Regions from separate parts of the Homo sapiens genome. Here all the other regions are linked to region 3. The links are contacts of gene promoters, found by promoter capture Hi-C in blood cells and fetal thymus (Javierre and others, 2016). All regions are on one chromosome and are shown on one strand. The core of a region is centred on a gene start or on the middle of the fragment in contact, and the rest is flanking DNA. Distances in the headings are between cores, read along the strand shown. Region 1 has its middle 140 kb from the start of HDAC9. Region 2 has its middle 160 kb from the start of HDAC9. Region 3 holds the start of SNX13 (sorting nexin 13). Region 4 has its middle 180 kb from the start of MIR1302-6.

Region 1 (3,506 bases), core at 263-2,762, 410 kb after region 3:
GTGAGAATTAGGTATTACTTCAGTATTAGGAGGTCTTCTACTTGCTGACAGAATACTTCGTTTGTGCCAGTTCTGGCCATCATTCATTATTATTAATAGTAGTATATAAGCATGGTAATGCTAATTCAATAGGTTTTCCAGGTTTTTTCTCCCTCTTGTTATTATCTTTTATTTTGAAGTTTGCCTTTATTTCAAGTTGTATTTGTGGGTATTCAGAATTATTGTACCTGTGTATAACTCAGTGGTTCAAAAGTCATTAGTCTTTAATAAATTAGAATTTATTTTAAAAATTCAAGATCTGAAAACATCATTTCATTGACTCTCAAGTAATGTTAATGCCAAGTTTTGAAAAGCAATTTTTCTTTTTGGAGGCAGTAATTTTGAGTAATTGGATTCCATGAAAAAAATGGATTCAGGAGCTAATTGTGTACCAGGTTTACTGGCATTTGTGCAAAACAACATTTAGCAACTGTCAGTGACAATACTCATCTAATTTCTCTTTATCACCAGCTGGTCAATCACGTATCTTCATCAATACAAGTATTTTAATTTCCTCTTTCAGGTATCCTCTTTGTGTGTTTTCTTCCTTCTCACTCTCCCTTCTCTCCTTATTTTAAGCTACTTTAGAAAATAGTAATACTTTACTGATGTGTAAGATGCAAATCACTTTGGAAGTGAGAAGGTGGATATTTATACATTTGTTCTATGACGGGGTTTCTAAGTCTGTCCCACTGGGAATGGTTAGTACATTCCATAGCTGTAAGGGAAAAATCCACTTTTCCCAGAAATAAAGGTCAAGAGACATGGAACAACTCTTTTATTATTTGCTTTCAAAACAGAGGGAATATGATTTATGTCGAATATAAGCTTATGTCATAGCTGTGCAGGTGCTGCCGTGAAGCTGTGACCCCTGTCTAATCCCCATAACGACACTGGGCATTGACCACATTTGCTTTGTAGTTACTGAGCTGCTTTCCCAGGGGCCTTCTAGTTTCTGAACCCAGCCGCTGGGTAGCTGGTCGACCCGTGCTTGGTGCAAGAACATTGTTTTGTAAGTGCAACCTGAAATACATTTTATAACCCCTGCCTAAGTTAAATGACTGTAGGTCTGTGACGGAGCCTCTGTGATTGAATCAAAGTCTCCTCTTAACTCCTTTTTTTCCTTCATGAATTTAGTAGTCGGCTGTAAATAGTTTTTTCTGCTTTATTTTTTATTGCGTTAAACATAATCACAATGATTTATTTCAAAAACACTAAACAGTTGCTTGATATTTACAAGATAAAATGTAATACTGACTTTAATACATCATTGCCTGATTTACTTATATAATTTTTATTTATCGTTGTAAGATAGTTAACATTTTTCCATGTTGCTTCAATATTTTTCCCCTTAAAGATTAATGACTTGGTAAAATTTGCAGTAATCACACAAAAAATTTGTTTTCCAATTTCATTCTGTCTTCCAACATTTTGATCTCCCAGAGTTTTAATATTTTTTAAGTTTCCTATGTGTTATGAATTGTAAAATAAAACAAAAATCCCCCAAAACAAAAAAAGACAGCTATATTAAAAGTATCAACTTTATTTTAAATCTTATTAATGCTTTTTATAATGGGAGGGAAGATATATATATTTAAATGACCATGTAAAGCAAAGTGAGGAAGTTAGGAACCAGGACGCTGAAGCTAAACTGAAGTTGAATCTCAGCTCTATCATGTCCCAGCTCTGTGATTTTGTTAATCTCTCAAAATCTGCCTCATCTGTAAAAAAAGGTGAATGATAGTAAAACTATCTGTTGCATAGCTGTTGTGATTATTAAATGAGTTAGCATTTGCAAAGCCCTACATAAATATTTGCTGTGTAGATAATGTTTAATTTTGTCAAGAACTTTTAAAAGATGTGTTTTGAGTCATTCATACAGGCACACACACAGGTTATTACAATTTTATCAAGAAATTATTAGCCTTGTCTTAAATCTCAAAAAATTTGAATTGACGGTGAATATGTGGAAAGTGACAATATACAAGGTTATCCACTATTGGAAGGTGTGTGTGGAACAGAACAGAACTAGATCACATAGCTGTGGAGAACAAAAGCTCAAGAAGAAAAAAATTCAAAATGAGTTTATATTTTTCTCACAATAACTGTGGGCACCCTTCAAGCTTCAGTTAAGTGATGACAACATAATTAGACAGTAAAATATTCTGTTTCTGAACTGTTCTTTGTGTGACCTTCAGTTATCTCTGAGGATCCTCAGGTTTCTTAAGGTTTCCTTAGGCTGTCTGTTTAATCTGATTTTTCTGAAAAATGTACATGAATAAATAGGCCCTCCAACCAAAAATATTAATATTTAACATTTAGCCAAAGAGGTAGCAAATATTATTTTCAAACAAAATGAAGTAAGATAGAAGAGCTGAGACAATATAATATTCTGCTTAGAGGGAAACAGTAGGTTGCCACTGATTTTTAGTCCTGTGTTTTGAAAACTATTTGAGATAGAAGGACTAAAATTGCAATGAAGATTACTGCAACACAGTTACTTGGTCCTCCTATCATTAATTGATTAAAGGTAATTGCCAGGGAGTCACCTCTGGAGGGCAGTGCAGTCTTATATTTGTTGCAGGAGCTCCAGGTACCTTTAAATTTTCCAGAAGTTCATTTCAAAGATTCTTGGCCTTGTGAGATGTGAGTCATTCCCCGTTTTAAATACTCAAAGGGAACGTAAAGGTGAAAACAAACTCTTTTTCGTTATGATGGTTAGCATGCTAGATTCAGGGAAAATGACGGGAAATAGGACTTACCATATAGAGTTAGTGAATCTCGGTGTGCAAATAAGGAGCTGGCTGATGTTTGTTTTTTTCCCCCCTTTTCCCCACTTTGGTTCAGATACTTGTGAACCTCCATTTCATGATCCTTGTTTTTGTCTCTGTCTTACTCTAAAATACAAATCTGTATCTTCTAAGAAAATCTTTTAACAGCCTCACCATATAGGGTGTTGCAGAAGGTCAGCTCGGCGGCCAGCAAAATATCTTCCAGTACCTTAACAAATCAGCAAAATATTTTGAGAAATGCTTTACTTTTATGAACAAATACCCTGCTAGTTATTGGATTTGTCATAGCATCTAAGGTTTCTCTCATAACCATACTGACCTTCATGTGCTATTGTATTACAAAACCAACTCTTTATGTAATCAAACCTAAGGAAGAATGCTTAATTAGCTATACATGACCCTGTGTTATGATACAGGCATACAAAAGTTATTTTCTTCAGCACTATCTAGCTATTGTACAAAGAAACTTCTTTATAAAGTAAGACATGGGATATTTGATGTCTCAGGAGTAAAGTAATATTGGGATTTTTTTTTTTCCTCTGCAAGCTGTTTGAGAGCTTTCAGCAGGGGGATACCGTATTTAAAGGTAGCCTAAGATCTCATAACTCCATGTGTCACAAAAACTGTGTAGGTTATGAAAGACTTTTCTCGTGAGCAAAACAACTGTGCTTTTTA
Region 2 (4,025 bases), core at 803-3,302, 390 kb after region 3:
AGTGAATGGAATGAACTGTATAATTCAATGTTTGATGATACTGGTCTCTGATATTCTGTGCTCTCTGATTCACAAAAGTGATGTGCCTGTCAGGGGATCAGATTGCTCAAGAACATGGGCCAGAGTATAATTCCTGTTGATGGCACTTGGATCCAGATTATGTCTTTTGAAGCCTTCTGTTTCTTTCCTCCATTTCACATTACACTCTCCTTGCTGCCTTTTATGCATTTTATGTAGGCTTACTAACCCAGCTCTCTAGCTTAGTGCCTGGCCCCCAGAAGTACTGAAGAAATGTTTAACTACCGTTTAGCTAGCCACAACATTCTTACTAGTTTTGCTTTGGGAATAGTGTATATTTTACTTCTAAGGTACTTTGGGTCTATTTTATTGCTGCATTCTAAGGCTTGTGTGTATGTGTGTGTGTGTGTGTGTGTGTTCCGTGTGTGAGAATAATGGGAAGGTATGATACCCACCTCTCATACCTTGATGCTTTGGGAAAATAAAAATTTTCTGATTATATTATTTTGCAGATGTTCTAGTTATACTTATCAATCTTTTCTGCTTGCCAAATGAAGATTTAGATTGTGAAGATTCTTTTCAGAGACATAGGTTCAAAACTAAATGAAACCCAGGGCATCTGTAATTCTTCACACTTTAGTGAAGCTCTGTGATAATAGTGAGTAGATGTGTGGTGTGGGGACACTTGGGGTGGTATTTCAGACACTTAGATATTTGCCGGAAATCTGAAACTTGTTAGTTCACATTTAGTTTTCACTAAATGGATTATATTTTTCTCCTAAAACTGCTATTCCACTATTAAAATTAATGGACATACAAGATACCTTGTCTGTAAATAGAACAGATATTTTTAATATTTTGTCACAGTCCCCCAAAGCATTAGTCTGTAATGTTGACTAATGGGTTGAAAAGATATTAACTTCAGAAAAACCAAAGAGAATTAATCTCTTAGAATACTTCTGAAACCACCAACTTCTGTTTTTGATTTTATATTTCTATACCTCAGGAGGGAAAAAAAAAACAACCAAAAACTATTTCCCCTCTACTCCCTCCCTGTTTTCTAAAAATAAGTCACTTTTGGTTTGTTACCTTATAACACATGCCAAAATTTATCCCAGAGTGAATTTTTGTAGCCAACTTAGAACCCCAAAATAGAAACTGCTGACAGTTCCTTAAATACAGTAACACTGGCAGGTGCCTTGGTAATAAATTCACAAGCTTAGAATCTACAAAACAATAAAGTTATGCAAATTGGAGCATGTAGGAAGAATAATCTGAAACAAATGGCAGAACAGTAAGTTTAGCATTGTGGCATCCTGGTTTTACTAACACAAGGCAAATAACCCTGAGGAGAATCAGGGAAATTTTAGATCAAGGAGGATTACACAGACATACAGTAATACATGAATACAATTTGAGTTGACCAATTAATAACTGGTTTCTCTGTTATCACAACCATAAACAGAGATGGGAAACTGATCATAGGTTTTGCATTTGATAGGTACAACTATCAAGAGGTAAATGGAAAATAACAAGACACCTAACTTGAAGTGATCACATGTGCAGAGCCTCTTAGCTTTTGTTTTAATTGTTCCTTCAGCATCATTCCCATCAGTCATATTCAGATTAGTTGTTTAATTTTAGCCAATCAGGCATGTAATACATTTGTGAATTTCATTTATTTTAAATGTCTTTGCCTTTGCCTAATTATCTTTTACTTTTGTTATTAATCTCTGATATGGCATAATGAAAAATCGTGTTTTTTAATGAAAAGAAAAGATGTGTTCAGTTAACATATTTTCAGGAAATACATATTTTCAGTTAAAATTAGAATAGCTCTAATAATATCAGACAAAAATGTAGCTGAGGAATATAGCACTACCTTTTATTAGTTGTGTAGTAAAATGTAACTTTTTGACCCTGTAGTATCGCTTGCAGAATGTAACAGAAATGTTTAACTTTTCTTGTTTTTGTTTTCATCAACCTCAAGTTACTCCCAAAGAAGTTCAAAATGTATCCCAGAACTTAAAGTATAATAAAAAAATTTTAAAAAAAGAAGTACAAAATGTCTATTGTGTACACAGGAAAAATATATTAGAATAATGATTATCTTAAGTATACTACCTACCTTATTCGAGGTGATGAAGTAGTGGACTGCTACAAGTTTGTTGGAGAGAGGGACTAGAACTGTCCTTTTAAATGCTATATTCTATATCATAGCATTTTTGTCTGGCACTTGGTAGATCCTCAATAGAGATTGCTTGAAATAATAAACAATATCACCTCCAAACTCAGGTTCACAAAATTTGAGTTCAGTGGCACAGTGGTGATCACATGTGCGGAGCCTCTTAGGAAAAGGAGGCCTAGAGAAGTATTGAGTTAGATGCTCAGGTTCCAGAGCCAGGACTGGAACACAGATACTGGACTTCTGTCAAGCACAATATACTTTTCATGGCCTTTGCCCGTCATTCAGATGTTTAAATTTGCTTAAAACAGTGCCATCTATTTTCTTTGGAGTTCGAATAAAAGTTCTTTCTAACAGAGTGAGTAATTCACACACAGATACTTAATAATTTCCCTGATTATTTTTTCATTTAGAGATTTTCAAACTAACAACCAAAATATTCTGGTAGAAATAAGGTAAGGTTGAGAAGTAAATATTATAAACTGGTCTGTTTAGCCAGAGTTCCCCTAAGAGCCTTCCTCATTCCACCTCAAAGACCATTTTTTAGTTTTTCCAAGTGTCTGTGAATTGTGGCTGTGCATGCGCACATGTGTGTGTGTGTGTGTGTGTGTGTGTGTGTGAGAGAGAGAGAGAGAGAGATTTTTACTTTAAAAAATTCTCATCACTTAAGCTTGACTGTTGCTTTTCTTCTTGCATGTAGCTTTTCTAACCAAATAAATTAAAAATACTTAAAATTGAGTATATTCCGTAATTGGTCCAATAAAAGAGGGGATGCATTGGAAGGGAGCTATGGCACAGGGATTAAAAAAAATGTTTTGCACCTGGCTCCTCTATATTAGGTGTGGAATGGCAGTCAAGCCGTTGAGCTGCTGTGGATTTCAATTAATGCATTTCTAAAATACTTTCCAGAAATTCAAGATGGTGATTATTTAAATAGTTGAAAAATACTACATCTCAATTTGGCCTATCTTTTTGTGTTGAAGATAGAGGATGTAATCTTTTTTCATGTTCAGTAGACTGTGAGCTAATAGTTTTGTTAGGGGCTGAGAAATCAACATACACCTTACGGCACTGGAGAAGCAGAAACCTGGCTTAATTTCAGAAGTGCAGGAATCTTTGACAGAAATATTCTACTGTGAGGAAATAAATTTACACAAGGATCCCTTCTCAGAGTATTTACTAAAGTCTGAAAAGCCTTAATTTATTTTATGCCAAAATTTATGTTTATGTCATGCCAAATATAGTTGCTGATATTGTTAGGTATTAATTTGTGTGCCAAAAGATACTCTTTATACTGTATTCTCTGATCACAATGTAATAAAGCAGAAATTAGTAAGAAAAAACAGTAATACAAAATAAACAACGATTTGGAAGGAACAAGCCATTAAAAACTACTGAGTCAGAGGCAGTTTTTAAACAGAGCTCAACTAGAGATAGAAATAGAGAATGTTAAAACAGTCTTTACCATTGGATGGGGTGAAGTTGGAGAGAGGAAATGGGGAGATTTAGGCCAAAGAATACAAAATAGCACATGTGTTGGATTACTAATTAAGAGATCTCATGTACAACATGAGGATTAAAGTTAATAAAATTGTACAGTATTAGGGATTTTTGTTAAGTAGATTTTAGCTGCTCTTGTCACACACAAATAGTAACTATGTGAGATGATAGCTATGTTCATCTGCTTCACTATATAGCCATTTTACTATCTCTCTATATCCCATGTCATCAGGATATAAACCTCAAATACACACCATGAAATGTGTTTTTAAAACACTTGCAATCATAGGTTATTTAGAAAATAGTAACACCATTAAGGGAA
Region 3 (3,858 bases), core at 545-3,044:
TTTTACTGGCAGACACACAAGTAGTTCATTTGAAAGTATTAAAACTCTGAAACATGTTAACATAAGCTAAGTTTAAGGAAAAGATCATATCATATAATATTACACATTAGAGACAACACTAAACACTTATTATAAGGCTAACTGTTCCCACTAAAATATCACACTTAAGGTAAAAATGAAACTTCTGCTACTTATAACTCTTTTTTCTAATCTATTACTGCTAATCACAACACAAACTTATGCTATAACCATAATCTCAATTAACTCCAAGAATGAAAAATCTGTAGAATTTAGAAATATAAAATGAACTTCAAACAACTAAAAATACGTACTGTAGAAGTTACAATCAACCAGTAAGTATTTATCATATGCCAGGCTCTGTGCTTAGATTAAGTACAAACAGCAAAGTATAAAGTTCCTCAAAGTTAGTCACGTTCCAAGGACCTGAAATTTCAGGCAAGTACGTGCTTTACCATCACTTTTCACAAAATAAAAGCCACTCACCTACAAATGTTTGTATTTCCTTTTTGGCCCATGTAGGAATACTTCCCATTGCCCACTAAAACTGTTTCCTATTCAGTTCAGCCCATAAAAATGCCCAATCCGGTCAGTTCCTCACGTCAGGATCCTCACAGTACTTAAAGTGAAAGGCTTCGAAAAAGGTATTTCATCAAATCACAAGGTTCAGTATTTTATGTTCAGTGACACCTACACCTGCAGATACTACAACACATAACTGGGCTAACCTGGGTCAAGTACCTAGTTGCACCGATTTAGTTCTTCCCCTTAAAGTGTTGCTAGTAAAGGCAAACTCTACTTCTTCAAAAAGTCGGCTTTTTGCAATGCCCATTAGGCACTAGAAAAGGGAAATTGATTGGTTCGTCATAGTTGCCCTACTTCCATTTCAGGTCCAAAGAAAAAAACTATTCCATAGGGAGTAACAAGGGGGCCACACGCAAATCAAGGTGGCAGATGCTAAACTGAACTTTGTGATGACCACGATTTAACCGAAAAGGTGATGGATGTGGGGGAGGGGGATGACCCAACTGAGCCATACATGTGCAGCTTGAGATAAAAAAGTCCACTTCATGAAGCAGTCAAAGTAGAGGGTGGGAAACAAACCGGTCGGGCCGAGCAACAACCCCAGGGTGCTGACCGAGCTCGGAGGCGGAGGGCCCTGGAGCCCAGGGACCAGAGAAAGGAGACCTAGGGCAAACCATAGGATCACAAGAACCAGCAGTAACGTGGAAAGGCCAACGCTGCCACAGAGTAGCGTGTAAGGGGACACGAAGAAGGGAGCGATGAGTTAGAAGGGAGTGACAGCAGGAGGGAGACCAGTGCCAGGGGCGAGTGGCAAGTGGCAACTGCGAAAGGCGAGGCACTGGCAGCCGGAGGTGGTGGGACTCTGTTGAGTCAGCACAGCTCCTACTCTGAGGGCACTTGTAGGATCCCCGCTGCTCCTCGGGCCCTGGAGCCCACGGCGAAGGGTCAGGCCCACCTTCCGTACAGATGATGTTCTCTGACGGGCTGGCGCCGGCCCCTTCCCCATTTCACAGGTAAACACTGGCCACCGTCGCCGCTTACCTCAGTTAACATTATTACACCCCGGGGAAGTGAGGTCCTCCCTAGCCTCGCCTCATGGCAACAGCCGTAGCAGCAGCGAAAACTGCTCGGGCCGCCGCCAACGGCGGCAACTGCTCCTTCAGTCTTCTCCCGGGCGGCGGTTTTACTCGGCTTCGCTGGCCTCCCCTCGGCCCGGTCGCTCGCGACGGACGCGCCGCCATCTTGGAAGAGCGACGTCCGCGTCTCGCTGCAACGTGCGTTCCCATTGGCGGGCGCAGGGGCTGCTGGCGTCTCGTGACCGTCTCCATAGCGCCGGCGCGCGGAGAAGCGGAGGTAGGCTGTCGGCAGTCGGCTTGGCGCTGACTTGTAGGACCCCGGGACCGGGCGCCTGGGCCAACTTGGGACCGCTGGGAGTGCAGAGGGGCCCCAGCGCCCGAGCCTTCCGGGAATGGACGTGCGCGCCCTTGGGGCCGGCGCATCATCCACCGCCCACTAGCGTTGGCCCGCCCTGGGGAGAGGAGAAAATGCCAGAGGCCGACACTTGACTGATGGCGCTGCGGACCTCGCTGGTCTTGGGGACAAGGCGGCAGATTTCCTTTAGAAAAACTTCCCTCTCGCGTCTCCCTGGCCCCGCGGCGACCGAAGAGTTGGGGTTCGGCTTTCTTCTCCTGGGATTTAAGTGTTATTTGAAACAGCTCCCTGCGCGGCCCTTTTCTCCTAAACTTTGACAGAAACTTCCCTTTGTCCCTACCAATCCTCAGTGAGTTCTTTACAGGGGTCCGAGACAGGTTGTAGATATGATGCGGCTTATCGGCTTTACCCCGATCCTAGCGGAGTTAGGACTTGCTGATGTAATTGGCCAGCACCTGCCTAACAATGAAGGTTTAGTTATGCTACAAGTAATGCACCTCTAAAAAAACGTAAAACAGGCTTTACGTTTTACCTGCTATCTCCACAGGTTTACTAGCTGCTTAATACAATATGCTTGTATATCAAGGTGAGCAAATTTCAGCAAATGTCATTGTAAATAGTCCCAACTTAAATGGAATTGAACTCTGGAACTCAATGTGCATAGAAGTCCCTGAGACTGACGCCATTCTAGATCTACCACTAGATGGTTTGCGATGTACGGAATTAAAGGCAGTCACTTCTACCTGAATTGTGATGAAAGTAGTTTACCTGAACATGCTGGGAAAGTGTGCTACCCTGTTTTGTATTAGAAACCAGTTTCCAAGTAAATTGAAAAGCAAATTTTCAGACTTGACATTAAAAACACCTCCATGTCATTCTTACAAGAGGTACAAAAGCATTTTAGAAAACTAAAGCCAGGAGTTTCTTCCCTTTTACCAGAATCTTTTCCCTCCATTTAACAATAGTACTGTTGTGCTAAATGAAATTTACTTAATGTATTACTCTTACAGTCTCAAAACAATAAGGGCATTGCAAACCTTGTATTATCTCTATCGTGTCAAGGAAACAAAACGGTTCATTTAAGCAGTCATGCAAAAAATTCAAGAAAAACTGATTTTGCTCAATTCAACTAATTGAAGCAAAGTAGTTTTTCTTGTTGTTTTAATCTGCATTTTGTACATCATTTCCACATTGCTGGACCAGCAAAATTCTGACCTCTGCAATACAATAAAATGTGTTACTGGTATTGACAGATGAAGCCACAAATAGAAAATGAGCATGGAAATCCTACCTGGACTGAGGTATCAAAGGATACCAAGAGATACTAGAGACAACAAGGAACCTGGAAAAAGATAGTGTTCCAACCTGTAAATAAGAAAACAGAGAAGGAGGTTCATTAATATTTAAGATACCAGCTAGTAAATTAAAACAGCAATGTAGTTGTCTGGCTTGAGTATTCAGTTTTATTTACTACATCTTTTTATCTTTTCTAGAAGCAAGGCATTAAGTGTTGACACTTGAGTATTGAACCAATCTGTGATATGACATGAATATGCCTTTAACTTTCAGAAGTTTGTCTACAGACTTACAAGGAAACCAAAAGTAGTCGCTCTTCCAATGGCTTCCTAATTTTCTCAGCCTGAGTCTTTTCTGCAACCTAAAAATCCTATGCTAGCTGGCCTCCCAAGTCCTACCTCACCTCCACCCCTCTGACCTCATTTCTGCTAAGCACTTTGTTCCAGTTACACAGACCTGCTCCCTGCTTCTGTAACACCAAGGCATCTTCTTGCCCTGAGGCCCTTACACTGTGTATAGTTTCTATCTGCAAAGATCTTTCCACCAAATACCTGCATGGCTAGATCTTCCACTTCTGTCCAATCTTTG
Region 4 (4,041 bases), core at 505-3,004, 370 kb after region 3:
GTAGTAATCTAGAACTGTTTGAATGACACATAGTTCTGTTGTACCCTTGTAGAGCACACAAAGAAACAAAGTTTCTGATCTCTGGGCAGGGGTCTAATAGATGAGAAGACAAGACATATGCATAGCACACCATGTAATATAGAGTGAGTAAAGAGTGCAGGCAGTAATTGCTTAAGGGTTTAGGAAAGGAACTTGGTACAGTGGCCTGGGCTGATAAGGTGAACTTGGAATGGGTTGGTGAAGGGAAGTACTTCCCAGGTTTTGAGGGACTAACTGGAACGAGGAAGGTAACCTGAGCCAAGATGAGTGAGCTAGAACACCAAGATGTATTTTAGTTTGAATTTATTCCCGCCCTCAGCAATTCACTCCCCAGTCCTGAGACATGGAATGAAGTGTAAGTTGTTTATTTGGGAGGAGATCCCAGGAAACTCCAATAGGGGAAATGAGGCAGGGAATGGAAGGCAGCCAAAAAACAATATGTTATCAAGTAAGTTGGTGTGCTAGGTAACTAAAGCTTAATTCTGCTGGGGAACTCTGGAAATCTCTGTACAACAGGCACACAGGGTGAGGAGCTGGGGTATTTCAATACCAACTCCTGAACATCGTTATTAGTTGGGGGCTGCTGTGGGTAGGACTCAGACTATGGGTGGGGATGTTAATTCCTCAGCACTTCTGGCCACTGAAAAATACATCCAATCGTTACAGTTAGAAGTCAATGTCTGGCCAGTGTGTACTGCAGTCGCAAAAGCAAGGAGATATGGGTGGACTGTTGATAGCATCTGCTATGATGTGTTTTCAGAAGTAAATCTGAGTTTTACCCATGCTCCAGAAATATGTTTACATGGTTTTGAAGTAGCAGCCTTTGTAGGAAAGAAAAGATGATAGTAATCTAAGTTTAATTAAGACTGAGTAATATAGGGGTAGTTTGGAATTGACCAATAGATTCTGAAGCCTTCTACACATACTTTTGGTCTCTCTCCAAGTGGTGCTATTCGTGCTGCTGGTAATTACTTTTCTTCAACGCCTTTTGATCCAGGCATTTTCTTGCTTACGATCTTTGGATGGATATTCATGCTGGCAGGATTAAGTCTTAACTCCTCAGACTTTAAGATTTCTACAGTTATTTCAACTGTTTTTCAAGCTTCATCAATATTGCTGAATATAAATTCTTCACTCCAACCAGACTTATTTACTCACACTCCTTTTTGCTTGTGCTATTTTGGATTTGCGAAACACCCCCCACTTACTTAAATTCTTTCCATTCTCCATGTCTGTTTCCAAACTCCCTCATGCAGCCATCTCCCCTGGTCATCTGAGCCAGCAGGCTGAGATCTCACTTCTCTCGTGGACCTCATTCCACAGTTAACATTGTGACATGTATTCTATCTATTAATGTGAAGTTAATTTTTTCTTATGTTATTAAATTTATTGTGTGTTTATATCTTGGCCCTTCAGCTACAGGAGGGCAGTTCTTGTGTGTGTGTGTGTGTGTGTGTGTGTGTGTGTGTGTGTGTGTGTGTTTGTATAGGAGGAGGCAAGAGTATCTTTTTTAAAGCCATACCTCTCAAGTTCAAATCCTGGCTTCCTCATTTATGAGCTTTGAGTCCGTGGGCAAGTAATTGACACCTCAACAACCATGAACATTTATACCTGTTAATCCATGAGTACAAAGGGAGGGCACATAAATGAAAGTTCTGACGTGTATTAGAAAGGTTCTGAATATGAGAATCATCTTGAACACATTGAATTTTGTGAAAATAATGGTAATTGTTCAAGACCATTATAAAAAAATTCATTTCCCCCAAAGTTCTTGTTACCATGTCATTTTCACAAATAAAGTGCTTGCTCTTTCTTAGATTCTAAAACTAGTTTCTAACATTATAAAATCAAAATTATTGCCTGGTGCCATGGCTCACGCTTGCATTCCCAGCACTTTGGGAGTGTGAGGCGGGCAGATCACCTGAGGTCAGGAGTTGTGGGCCAGGCTGACCAACATGGTGAAACCCTGCCTCTATTAAAAATACAAAAATTAGCCAGGTATGGTGGTACATACATGTAGCCCCAGCTACTCGGGAGGCTGAGACAGGAGAATCCCTTGAGCCCAGGAGGCAGAGGTTGCAGTGAGCCAAAATTGTGCCGCTGCACTCCAGCCTGGGTGACAGAGTGAGACTCTGTCCCAAATTTTTTTTAAATTGTAAAATTGAAAAAAATCGTAATTATTATTAAAGTCATAGTAATATTTTAAAAACAATTATCACACATTAACAAAACAGCCGATGTCACTAACACCAAAGGTCAGGGTGTGGAATATATGCACCAATGGTTCTCCATCTGACTAGATATACTTTCCAGGAAATGAAAATACTTGGAAGCTTTTCAAAAAGTTCTAGAAGAAAAACCATTTCTGATACCTACAAATATACATGTATATGAAAGTGTTACAAATATAAAAATACATGTTTTCAAACTCAAATGTAATTTTAAGAACTTTGCCTTAATTTATATTGCCAAGTAGCTTAAACATTTTAATAGTGTCACTGACTGATGTTGATTGTTAAAGACTTCATCCAATTTACGAAGTTGGTTTTAGCAATCTATATGAACTAGGTTAATTAAAATGTGAAATTTGCAAAACCAAGCCTACGTAGAATACTTTTAAACATCAGAAGAAAATAAATCACTGTTGTAGCCTTGTTTCTTTCATAGTTATATAAATTTGCTTAACCATATACAAGAAAAGAACTTTTCTTTTGAGGAAAAGGTACACTCGAACTCTGATCTGTAATTATTTAAGCTTTGGGCACTTCATAGCCTAATCATCATTTGCTGTAAATATACCATACTCCCTTTCAAAATGATATTTAATCTGCATTTAGTACGTGGTATTGGATTTTACATTTCTTAAAGATATATAAAAGTTTTGGTGTACTCAGTAGGTGATTGAAGATGTGCTACTTCATGGAGAAAAATATATTAGGTGTGTCTGACCTGGAAAGAATGTTCTATTAATCTTTTTCTTGTGTCAGATTTATAACAAAAAGAAGTGGAAACTATATTAAGCAAGGATATAAGTTACATATATATATATGTGTGTACGTGTGTATATATATCTGTAGGATATGAAAAGATGTTAGCCATTATATTTTCTCTTATTCTTGCTGTTCTCTAATTTAAACTCAAATTCTGGGGATTCGTATGAGTTTTTATGGGTAAATACTAAGACAGGAAGATAGGGTTTGTTGAATGATCCCTTCTTCAGATCCACTTTATGATGCAGGCTTTACCTGTGTGCATAGATGTAGAAACAGGTCCAGAAACACCAGGGAACCTGAACAAAGTCACATGGCTGGTGAGAGGAGAATTCGTGTCAACTCCAATTCCTTTGGAGAATATATGCAAATTATCTGCTTGTGTTTGTGGAGATCTCTAAGTCAATCCATATTACCCACATTTCAATGCATAATTGTGAGTTTACTGAGACTTTGACCAGAAGTATTGTAAAGCTGAGCTTGTTCTATGGCGTTTGGGAGGAGTTGAAATAAATCATTTCAAGGACAATGAAATGTTCAGCCCAAGGTACACTCGTCCTTGGTTTAAACACCCATTTCCTTTAAGGACTTTCTAATGAGACCTTGTGGATTTTCCAAAAAATATACCGTGCCAGTGGCAGCTTATTCACCTTACTTACATAGTTCGAGGAACTGCTTGTTTAAATTTAGATACTGTCTCTGATGAAATGTTTTGACAAAGTAATACCAGCTTGATACTATTTAAAATATTTTGACAGATGGGAAAATTGTTTCAGTCTGAGTTGAGCAATACTTTATTGCAGTATTTTGTGAGTTAGAAAAAAAATGGTAAAGGTAGCCTCACTGTTCCCCAAAATAACATCCTTCCATTCTCCCTGAGGAGAGAAAGGCCTCTATTCAGTCATAGATTACAGTATGTGTGCTGAGTATGTTAAGAATTCACACAGTTTAAACAAGAGGGAACATTTGGGGACTGTTTCCAAACAGGGAACATTTATTGTTCTATAAGCAA

The links. Contacts are between HindIII fragments. The CHiCAGO score rates a contact against its expected background, and 5 or more counts as called.
Region 1: a fragment that was not itself captured here is called in contact with the fragment with the promoter of SNX13 in region 3 in 1 of 17 cell types (neutrophils); the score reaches 14.7 in neutrophils.
Region 2: a contact is called between a fragment that was not itself captured here and the fragment with the promoter of SNX13 in region 3, in 1 of 17 cell types (neutrophils). The highest score is 6.6, in neutrophils.
Region 4: a fragment that was not itself captured here is called in contact with the fragment with the promoter of SNX13 in region 3 in 1 of 17 cell types (neutrophils); the score reaches 9.4 in neutrophils.

What each region holds. Positions count from the first base shown.
Region 1 is chr7:18,349,913-18,353,418 of GRCh38, forward strand. It overlaps a transcript of HDAC9 not described here. Among named protein-coding and RNA genes, the nearest start is that of HDAC9, 140 kb to the right of the region's middle. The HindIII fragment of the contact is 1,295 bases long and covers 866-2,160 here.
Region 2 is chr7:18,329,571-18,333,595 of GRCh38, forward strand. It overlaps a transcript of HDAC9 not described here. Among named protein-coding and RNA genes, the nearest start is that of HDAC9, 160 kb to the right of the region's middle. The HindIII fragment of the contact is 1,637 bases long and covers 1,235-2,871 here.
Region 3 is chr7:17,938,700-17,942,557 of GRCh38, forward strand. SNX13 (sorting nexin 13) reads right to left here and starts at 1,795. Exons shown (of 26, transcript NM_015132.5): 1 at 1,585-1,795. The coding sequence starts at 1,596. The HindIII fragment of the contact is 12,825 bases long and covers 1-3,858 here.
Region 4 is chr7:18,305,625-18,309,665 of GRCh38, forward strand. It overlaps a transcript of HDAC9 not described here. Among named protein-coding and RNA genes, the nearest start is that of MIR1302-6, 180 kb to the left of the region's middle. The HindIII fragment of the contact is 1,231 bases long and covers 1,140-2,370 here.